Linked DNA regions of Homo sapiens: region 1 is linked to region 2. Evidence: promoter capture Hi-C in 16 types of primary human blood cells and fetal thymus (Javierre and others, 2016). All regions are on one chromosome and are shown on one strand. Each heading gives the region's core, a stretch centred on a gene start or on the middle of the fragment in contact. The rest is flanking DNA. Distances are from core to core; before and after follow the strand shown.

Region 1 (5,445 bases), core at 2,343-4,842, 360 kb before region 2:
GGGTTACAGGCATGAGCCACTGCGTCTGGCCCCTAGATTATTTTCTTGAGTAATATCTTAATATCATGCCATTGACATTTATTCTTTAGTTATTTCAGAGGTGGCCTTCAGAGGAAGACCTGTTTGGTAAAATTGCTGTTGAGGATATTTTACTTAAAAATAAATTTGTCTTTAAATCCAGGAAACTTTTTTTGTTGTTGTTTTTTGGGGTTTTTTTTTGTTTTTGTTTGTTTGTTTGTTTGTTTCTTTTTTTGAGACTGAGTCTCACTGTGTTGTCCAGGCCATAGTGCAGTTCTCTGTCTCTCAAGTTCAGGTGATTCTCCTGCCTCAACCTCCTGAGCAGCTGGGACTACAGGCATGCACCACCAAGCCTGGCTAATTTTTGTATTTTTAGTAGAGACGGGGTTTCATCGTGTTGGCCAGGCTGGTCTCCAACTCTTGACCTCAAGTGATCCACCTGCCTTGGACTCCCAAAGTGCTGGGATTACAGGTATGAGCCACCATGCCCGGCCAAAATCTGGGAAAAAGTTAAGTTAAACTTTTAGGCTTCTATTTTTATCAGACAGGGTAAAGAATTGTTACCTTTTCCCCTCTTTGTGTGATAAATTGCTTGGTTTTAGTTACTGATTACTTAAAATAATAGGTTACTCAAATCTTTTTGATATAATAGATTTTGATACAATAGTTCTCTAGAATACAGTGTGTGTGAGAGTGTATTTAAATTTTTTATTAATGCTGGTATAGTTGGATTTCTTTTATAAATTAGTAAAGTAGAAATTTTTGTTAAGAAATTTTTAATTTAAGATTTTCAAATTTATCTTGTCTGCAGTTAACTTGAATTAATAAGCTCTTATTTAGAGTACTTTTAATACTTTTAACATATCTTACTATGCACTGTGACTGTTTAAATGTAATCATTGTTCTGTGTCTCCAGAAGTGAATAATTTGTTTATGCATACATTTACACTGTTATCTATAAATATATAATACATCACCTATAGCCTCTCGACTGCCATGTAACTTGGAGATAGGACAAAACTTCACGGAATTTAAAGATGCTTGGTGTTGGTAGGAAAGGCATGGTAACAGATAAAGCCACTGAGAGAATAGTGGACTGAATAGGTATCTGCATTGAAGAGCAAGCTGGGGCTGGGAACGGCTTTTGAACCTCAACTCAGCTCCCAGTTACCAAGCCTCCTCCCCACCCTAACTGATGGCATATTGGGAGTCTGATTTACATCTGATTTTGTTCTGTGTGTGAGGAAGCTTCTCTAAGAGCAGCGGGATTGGGGGAAATGCAGATTATTTGTATCTGTGAAATTAAGGTTGACTGTAGTTAAAATTTTTAAAAAATCAAAATGTTTCATGATTAACAACTAAATGTTAAACTATTGGTATATTTATAACTATAGTAGAGTTGGTGATAAGGTCTGTTAAGACAGGTTTTGTTCGCTGCCGACTCCCCAGTGCCTAGAACACTGCCTGGGATGTAGTAGGTATTCAGTAAGTATTTGTTGATTTATAGGTTGTGCAGATGAGTGATGTTATAGTCAGTTTTTTCTTTCTAGGTGCAGATGCTAATTTCAGTGTCTGGATTAAAAGGTGTCAAGAAGCTCAGAATGGTATGTGGGTCTCCCTTGGTATTTGTTTCAATTTAAAAAGAAGTAAACATCTGAAATTTTTTTGGTTTAAACAAATTTGTTTTTATCTTTATAATTTCTTTTAAATAGTATACGTTTCCTTAGATGTGGACTTCCAAAGATACACTGGTTTTTGCATAGCTTCTTATGTTGAAAGGGGGATTTGGGTGGATTTGCTTGTATGGTATATCAGTAAGAAATTACTAAGGAGTCTAAAATGAATTCAGGATGCAAAATGAAACCACTTTTCTTTAGTTGAAAGGTACGGAGAATTTGCTTGCTTAATCAGTATGTTTGTGCTATAGAAATCATACAAATAACTTTGCTTAAAAATGCACTGTTCCCTGAAAATGTTTCCTTTTTATGTTTTAATAGGCTCAGAATCTGAGGTGGTAAGTCCAAAGTTTTCATTCTTCATGTTTTTATTATTTTAAATTTCAGCTACCAAATATATTTGAGACAAGACTCAGGATGAGCTGTCTGATATTTAAATATTAAGCAATTCCATTTAAGTGCTGGTTCCTCTAGGCACTGAAATAAAATCATTTTTTGATAAATATAGAAGTTTCCAGTCATGAAAATTATTGGCCTATTTTAATGAATTTAGTGTGTGGTTAAAGTTGATTTCGTGTGTTTTAATATGGTCATGATGATCATTTATCTTTTCGTTACTAAAACCTTATTGCATTTATTTAGGTTCAACAGTTTGAATCACTTGTAGGGCTTTTTATGATAGGCTAAGACAAAAGTTAAAGAAAATTGGAAATTGACAGGGTCTTGCTCTGTCATGCAGGCTGGAGTGCAGTGGTGCCATCATAGTGCACTTGAGCTTCAAACTCCTGGGCTCAAGCAATCTTCCCACCTCAGCCTTCCAAGTAGCTGGGACTACAGATGTACACCACCAAGCCTGGCTAATTACTCTGTTTCTTTAAAACGATTTTTAAAACAATGTTATTTTAGTTTAGGAAGTTGCTGAATCTTAGAACTGGCCATTTTATATAAGCAACCTTTTCTAATCATGCCTTTAGAAGTTTTCTGTTATTTAAAGTTCTGTTATTTTAGAGCAAAAATCTTTTATGAAATTCAATCTAAGATTTTTTAAATGCTGAGCATTCTAATTTTTTTCCGAAAACTAGTGGTATTTAACAATTACAGTTACTATGTCTTTGAAGAAAATTTTCATGTAGTTATTTTATATCAAAATAACTGCAGTGTTGGGTAAATTAATAATACATGCATTTTAATAATACAGTTGCTAAACTGACTTGTAAAAATCTTTCTCTTTCAACTTACCAAAATCAATCTGCATCCCAGTGGACTCATCAGTCAAAAATCAAGTGAGTGTTTCTTTTTCATAAAACAATGCATGATAAATATGCCTAAAGAGGAAGAAACCCTGTAGTTTAATAGTAAGCAAATTCTTACCATGTGATTTTTAAGTTTTTGTTTGTTTTCTAAAATTGTGTAATAGCTTTATGTAAAGCCAATTTTAAGGCTGTTTAAGGATTAATATTTGTACTTCAGTTAAATTCAAATCATTTCTCATCTTTAAAGTTGCTTCACTTGGTTTCATATTATGTTACCTTTCCATATGTTAAGGAGAGTCTCTTCCAGTTAAGTTTATGTTACTACACAGGTAAACAAGTTAGTAGTAGATCTAACAGAATTGTAACTTAACCTGCCTTTTATATTTGGAGCAAATTTTTCATAGGAACATTCTGTATGCGTTGAAAGTTAATATTGCTGAGGGCAGCAATTATAATAATGAATAAGCAACTAGCAAGTCTTTGACTTTTAATTATTCATTAGCCTGTGTACAGCTTGTATTCTTAGGACCGTAACAGAAACACAAGCCGTTGATCTGGAGCTTTGCATCCTTACTGAATTGCAAAGGGAAACCGAGACTCTTAAAGTTCATTTCTTTAATCAAGGTGGTTTTGGATATAATTACCTAAAATGGCCTGGAAAAGTTAAAAACCATCTATTCATGGTAGTTGTGGGGAGATACAGGATGAAACTCCAAGTACCTAGTAGATAAGGAACTTTGACTTGCCCTGGTGGCAGCAGCAGGGGTAGGGCACATAACCATGAAATAATAATTAAGGTGTTCAGAGCATAAAATAATCCCACATCTAACTTAATATACGTGTACCGGACACTGTGCTTGGTCCTAGGGATATAATAGCGACAGGATAAACAGCTCTGCCCTCAGAGAGCTTTTAATCTAGTCTAATTTGAAAGTGAGGATTCCTACGTTTCTAGAGCTTTCAGTACAAAAGATGCACATAATTAGAATCTAGACCCATTAGTCTTTCCATGTATCTTGAAATTGAAGGAAAGTGTTGTATATGATGTTGTGCCTGACACAGTTAAACTTCATATGATTTTAATTTTAGTTCATTTGCCCCTGTTTTGTGTGCTCAAGTCTATCTGCTTCCAACATCAGTTTTGAGAGCTTGGAGTGTTGACTCAGGCTTATTGCTTCACCTTTCTGAGCTTAAGTTTTATCATCTGTAAAATAGGGATTTAAGTGTTTATCTGTAGTATTTGGATGAAATGAGAGTATAAAAACTCTATTGATGGCATATAAATATTAGCTTGTTTAAAATAAATGACATCTTTAATATTTATATTAGTTTAAGCACAACAGTGCTAGAGATGAGTCAGAACCCAGAAAATCATGCAAGTATTTAAGTCTACTGGAAAGGTGTGAGCATCATTTACCTTACCATTTTTTTCCATTAGTACAGAGCATAAAAAACTAGTTATATAAAGTTGTTTCTGTGAATCAGTAGTTGCTTTGCTGTTTTCTTCCTCCAGGTGGGGCTCTTGTTGTTTATCAGACTAGTTTTTGTTTTGACAATAGCTTTAAAAAAATTAGAAGAGTTACCTAAGTTTCTTTTTTTTTTTTAATAGGTATGACTGGTATCAAACAGAATCTCAAGTAGTCATTACACTTATGATCAAGAATGTTCAGAAGAATGATGTAAATGTGGAATTTTCAGAAAAAGAGGTCAGTAGACTGAATCATTTTTCAATGTTGATTACTATTATTTGCAAATTTAGTATATTGCAGAATAATCGATAACGGTTTATCAGATAAATGCTATTTCTTCCTGAGATGATTTGGAAAATGTTGAATAAAATCTGAAGCCATTGCTTTGAGGTAAGAATATGTATGTTGGTAAATTATAGCTGGATGTGCATTTTTTTCTTTAGATTTGAAATTTAAAGCAGAATTTGGTTATATTAGTAAGATAATGTGCTTTGGTTATACTTGTGTGGTGTACTTCATGAAAAAGATCTAGTTAGTTTTGTGATCACACATGTCTTAGAATTGACTAGCCATGTTAAATGAGTATGACTTTTTTTGTTGTTGTTTTTTGAGACAGAGTCTCGCTCTTGCGTAGGCTGGAGTGCAGTGGCGCAATTTCGGCTCACTGCAGCCTCCTCCTCCTGGGTTCAAACAATTCTCCTGCCTCAGCCTCCTGAGTAGTTGGGACTACAGGCACATGCCACCGTGCCTGGCTAATTTTTGTAGAAACGGGGTTTCACCATGTTGGCCAGGCTGTTGTCGAATTCCTGACCTCAAGTGATCTACCCATCTCAGCCTCCCAAAGTGCTGGGATTAGAGGCATGCACCACCGTGCCCAGCCTCTTGAGTATGACTTTTAACAACTTGATTTCTTACCATTTAGTAGAGAACCTTATAATAGATTATTTAAAAGAGGTAGTGATAGAACTGTATGTTTTGCACATGGATCACTTTTTGTTATATATCATTTTGCTTTTGTATGTTTTCTTG
Region 2 (5,482 bases), core at 2,847-5,346:
ATATGAAAAACCCAGGTACTGATGTTGAGGTGAAGTGAAGGTGTGCTTCAATGCTTAGTCGGGAGATGGCAAGAGGAATTTAGAGGGCAGTCTGGTTCTAGGTCTCTGGGCAGATTCCATCTAGTAGGGTCCAGAGATAAACCTGAAGTTTGGTGTCTCCTGAGTCCATTCACCCCTTGTGATGGTGGTGGGGAAAGGCTTCTGGGCACTGTTATGGCTCATTAGTCCAAACTTTCTCTGTGGAGGGTGTAAAGCTTCTCTTTTTCCCCCCAAATTAGTACATGCTACCTTTCAACACTTCAGTTGTTGCCTTTCTGCATTTGCGTAGAAGTTTGCCCTGTTTTCCATTAGTTGCCATTTTTACTAGTTTGGTTCTGCATTTTGTCAACAGGAATGATTTTGCTGCAGATTGAAAACATAAGTATTTGGCTGAAAATTCTGTAATTGGGGGTTTTGATCTTCTAAACCACAATAACATGGCAAAATTTAGGTAGTTCTTGATATAGGATAGGCTTAGGGAGTGAGAATGTTGATTTGGTGTTCAGGTCAGGCTGAGGAATAACCTTAAGAACTCGAATCCAAGTATGAGTTGCTAGAGTGGGCTACATGAGATTGTAGGTACAAGGGCATAATCATGACCCTGGAGAGAATTTGAGTTGCCTATGTTCTTTAACTTGTACAATTTCTCTTGCTTGGAAATCACTCCCTTTTCTTCAACACTAATTTTTAAAAAAATAAGTATTTTCTCCAATAGTTATTTAAGAATTTCCTTCACAATTCTTATTAAATCAATCCACTCATTCATGCATGCATGCATTCATTTATTAAATATATTCCTCAGTGTACAAACGTTTATTAGACACCAAATGCCAAGCACTGGGCTAGGTGCTGGAGATTGAAAACCAATGAAGCCATGGTCTCCATCCCTAAGAAGCTCAGCACCTGGCAAATTCTTCACACTTCAACCCATCTTGGGTCTCTGGAGTCTATCCAGTCATTTCTCAGTATTCATTTAACTGGTTTTGTGTTCAATTTGTGTTTATTCCTAGTATATTCCCTGAAGTGGCCTGCCTTCCGTAAGTGACTAGGCATTTTCATTAGAAAAAATTATGCATTCTTCTTTCCTTATCATCATAGGGCCTGATGTTCTGCACAGAGTAGGCTCTAACACACACTGTTAACTGAGGGACCACTTTCCAGGGTAAATAAATGGGGTCAGCTGATTATTACTTATATACACGATTGTTGATATTGCTAATAGAAATTTGAGGGTTGTTGACGATGTAGTCAACTGATATGAAAAGCCTCTATTACCAATCTGTAGACCAAACACAGCCTCTGTTTTCCTCATATACACCAGATACCCCATAGATACCCTCCTGCAAAAATGCAGCAGTATGTTTGATTTTTAATGACAGGAGGATTAAATTAAAGTTATGTCTACACGGATGTCTTCCTTGTGTGTTGCAACTGTTCAAGAAGTACGGTTTGGGGAGGTCCCCTAATGAAGTGCATAAATAGTAACTTTCTTTCAAACTGTCAGTGAAGATTGCTGTATTACTCATGTGAATTTCGGTGACCCCTTACTCTAGAAGGAGCCCAGGGTAGAACACATTTTTACAAATAATACACTTTGCTTTGCAGCTCTGATAATTTTGTTCCTGTCTTTGAGTCTGTCATACAACCAGGAGGCTGCTTGTTTCTTAGGACAAAGGTATTTGCAGGGAAACTGATCAAACTATTTTTATTAATAATCTCATTATTATTAATAATCTCATTACGGAGGCATCACCAATGCTTTTGTGCATTTGAGGGCTACCAAATAGATTAAAGTTTTATTCTGGAAACTCTGGAGCCATACAAGAACAAAGAAGCTTATGAGCACAGTGGGTGGTGGTTCTTCCCTGGCTAAGGCACATTTGTGCTTGGGAGAACTGCTGTCCCATTTCTGCAGTATTGCCACCCCTCTGGTAAGGGGTCTTCTAATGAATTGGCCATAGGAGACCTTAAAGGTAGTCATGACTACAGGCTATACCACTGTTAATGAGATTTTCTTTCTGACAGGGCACCAACATGCTCCTTGAAAAAAGGTACAAGGAAGGCTCATTACAGCCACATGCAGAGGCTACTAGCAAATGAGAACAGATTTGCCATTTGTTTTGGTGGGAATCGGGAGGAAGAGGGGAATTGTGCTGGGAGGTAGAGACACATTCTTCTCCTTATGTCCATATTCATTGCATTCAATCTTAGAATAATGGATTCAGTCTCCCAGTTTTCATTCTCACACATTCTGTATGCATTCCCTGCCTTGGACTGGGGATCTAAGTGGTTAGAACATTTGACCAAAGAGGCCAAGGCTGAACTGCTTCCCACAGAGAACAATGAACTTTACAGCCCACATTTCTCCCTATCTGTTCTTCTTCACTCTCTATCCATCCATTTGTGGTTTTCCTGTCTCCCCTTCCCCCTCCCCACCACCCCAGTTTCTGAATAGTGTACCAGGGGTTTAAGACCCTGTTTCTCACATTAGCACTGTGCTTATTCTGAGAGTTTGTGTGGAGCTTCTGGGGTGGGGTGGAGTGGGGCATGAACCTTCTCTCCTTGTTTTGAACCCAGCAATCTTACATATTGATCTAGTCTTTAGGAAATTAAACAAACAATGAAAAAGCTGACATTTTTATGGCACGTCAAAAGTCATAAGCAACTTCCCATACAATATTTCATTTAATTCAAACAATTTAGGAATTGTTACAACCCTAGAGGGGCTAAGTGACATGCTCAAGGCCACCGACTCATTGTGACACAGCTTTTTTGTTTGTTTTTGTTCTTTTGAGACAGCCTTACTCTGTCACCCATGCTGCAGTGCAGTGGTGTGAACATGGCTCACTACAGCCGCAACCTCCCAGGCTCAGGTGATCCTCCCACCTCAGCTTCCCAAGTAGCTGGGACCACAGGTGCATACCGCCACACTTGGCTATTTTTTTCATTTTTTGTAGAGACAGGGTCTCACCACATTGCCCAGGATGGTCTCCAACTCTTGAGCTCAAGCCATCCTCCCACCTTGGCCTCCCAAAGTGCTGGGATTACAGGTGCGAGCCAGCATCCCCGGCCCAGAGCTGGGTCTTAATACCGAGACTAACACCTTTTTCTTTCTCCAGGGAAGAAGGCAGAGGTCACAAAGGTGTGTGAAATGTTGAGCAGGGCAAATGGATCCTGGAGCCCAGGGTCAGAGCTGCTGAGCAAGAGAAAATGCATCTTATTTCTCAGTTTTATGAAGAATAAGCTTGAGATCTTGAATGCCTGGCTGGCTCACAAGAAGCTCAGGGGCAATAGAGGTCAAAGTTTTCTGGAGAGAGAAACTGCTCCTGGGGTCCTCCTTGACTGGGTTTGAGGCAGTGCCCTGGCCTGGGAGAGCGGGCACTGGGTCATCGGGATCCCTTTGTTTATTTGGGTGTTTTCTCTTCCCTATATGAAGCATACAGTGGTGAGTACTTGATAGGGCAGAGTCCTACCTGGTTGGCCAGGGAACAAAACGTTGCTGGTCTTTCCTTCAGAGTGGGGTTGTTAGACAACTTTGTCTAGAAACAGTCACTGTAAGGAACAGGTCAACGACAACTTGGGCAATAGGAACTGAAGAGGGAAGCTCAGTCGCTCCTGGAGGAGAGCCACAGTCCCTAAGGCAAGTTCCCTAACTGTCTGTGAAAAGTAGTATTCAGTAAAATGGGGGAGAGCACTAGAAGTGCTGTGAGGCAAAGGACTGAGGGTTGCTTTTCCTCCATGGAGCCTCCAAACTCTGTGTCATCCACAAAGACTACTTTGGTCTCATCTCTTTCAAGGAAGTACCAAGTGGGAAACCAAATATTGGGCTTTACAAAGCACATTTGAGTTAATGTTTGGCAGGGGATATCTGGATCCAAGGGCAGCTCACAGAGTGGGCCTCACTGACAAGGTGTGGGCCATGACTCAGATTCCTGGGTGTCCTGAACCTCCTGGGGCAGTTCACACGTTCCCTGGCCACTCCCTCTTTTCCTACATGCTGGCCATGGGGAAATCACCACTGGGCACTATAAGAAGCCCCTGGGCTCTCTGCAGAGCCAGCGGCTCCAGCTAAGAGGACAAGATGAGGCCCGGCCTCTCATTTCTCCTAGCCCTTCTGTTCTTCCTTGGCCAAGCTGCAGGGGATTTGGGGGATGTGGGACCTCCAATTCCCAGCCCCGGCTTCAGCTCTTTCCCAGGTGTTGACTCCAGCTCCAGCTTCAGCTCCAGCTCCAGGTCGGGCTCCAGCTCCAGCCGCAGCTTAGGCAGCGGAGGTTCTGTGTCCCAGGTGAGGAGGCCCCAGAATCTGAATGAGCTGCATTCATTCCCTTCCATTTGCTTTTGGGTACCTGAATACAATTTCATGGATGGCTAGACCTGGGCACTCTAAAAGATTTACGACTCATTTTGTTAACTATAGGTGCCCCGGAAATGAATTAAAGCCTCAGTAAAATAATTAAATTGTTAGCAAGAGAGACGATATCGCAGTTCTCCAGCTGGGACTTTTGGGAATATCTATGCTTTAGAGGAATTCTCAAATCTGGCTGCACATTAGAATGGGTGGCCGGGGGGACTCTAAAAGTACAGATGCCTGGGTTCTGTACTTAAAAAAATCCTACATAGATGTATACAAATCAAATATTTTAAAAAACCTCTCCCCAGGTGATTCTAATATATAGTCCAAGATGGGAACTGTTAGGGAAAGACTCTGTGAGTTGCAGCTCTGGGAAGTTTGTCCAGTTGTTTTGCTGCCTGGCAGGATCCCGGAATGGTGAACAGTAGCCCTCGAGGGAGTGAGAGCCGCAGTGCCCTAGTTGAAGCCCTGACCATTTCTCTTGGCCTGGTTTATAAAGGAGGTGGGTGTCAGAAATAAGGGGGGAGTTACTGGTCTTTAGCAAAGTGTTATTACCAGTGGACATTCGCCTAGGGGAGTGTTCACTCTTTGCAGTCTTCTTTACAGGGAATCTTCAGGACCATTTCCAGCTCCAAACAACAGTAGCAACAAACAAACAAAACCAAAAGTCATGCATTACAACGAGGCTGGTACAGCTAGGCTAAGTGCATTGAAGGCATAGTAAGCCAGTTCCGTGGGGGATGAGTCCTCTTTGGATCTCCTTTAAAGAAAGGAGAATGGGCTGGAGGGCATGAGAGGTTAGGAGGTAAGAAGCAGTTATTCATTTCACTCTGGGCCTTTCTGCGGGAACCCCACTCTGCAAACCTCCTAGGCTATTTTTGCTAAGGTATAACTTGGGGTGGGGGAGTCTTATCTGGGCCAAAGCTTCTCTCTCTAAGCCTCTAGGATCTTTCCTCACAGGTCAGGTAGCTGCTTACATTATCATGCTTGAATGGAAGGGCAAATGGGAGAAGGGGGAGGAAAAGACTTTTATTTGTTTTATTTTGACCATCAGAAATTACAGATAATAAAAATGTGATAATTAACAAATGA

What was found. Contacts are between HindIII fragments. The CHiCAGO score rates a contact against its expected background, and 5 or more counts as called.
Region 1: a fragment that was not itself captured here is called in contact with the fragment with the promoter of OLFM4 in region 2 in 1 of 17 cell types (neutrophils); the score reaches 5.2 in neutrophils.

What each region holds. Positions count from the first base shown.
Region 1 is chr13:52,661,081-52,666,525 of GRCh38, forward strand. It overlaps SUGT1 (SGT1 assembly cochaperone of MIS12 kinetochore complex), which reads left to right. Exons shown (of 13, transcript NM_006704.5): 6 at 1,569-1,622; 7 at 2,016-2,032; 8 at 2,955-2,977; 9 at 4,557-4,653. Among named protein-coding and RNA genes, the nearest start is that of SUGT1, 11 kb to the left of the region's middle. The HindIII fragment of the contact is 4,657 bases long and covers 1,265-5,445 here.
Region 2 is chr13:53,024,717-53,030,198 of GRCh38, forward strand. It overlaps OLFM4 (olfactomedin 4), which reads left to right and starts at 4,097. Exons shown (of 5, transcript NM_006418.5): 1 at 4,097-4,324. The coding sequence starts at 4,121. The HindIII fragment of the contact is 2,031 bases long and covers 3,282-5,312 here.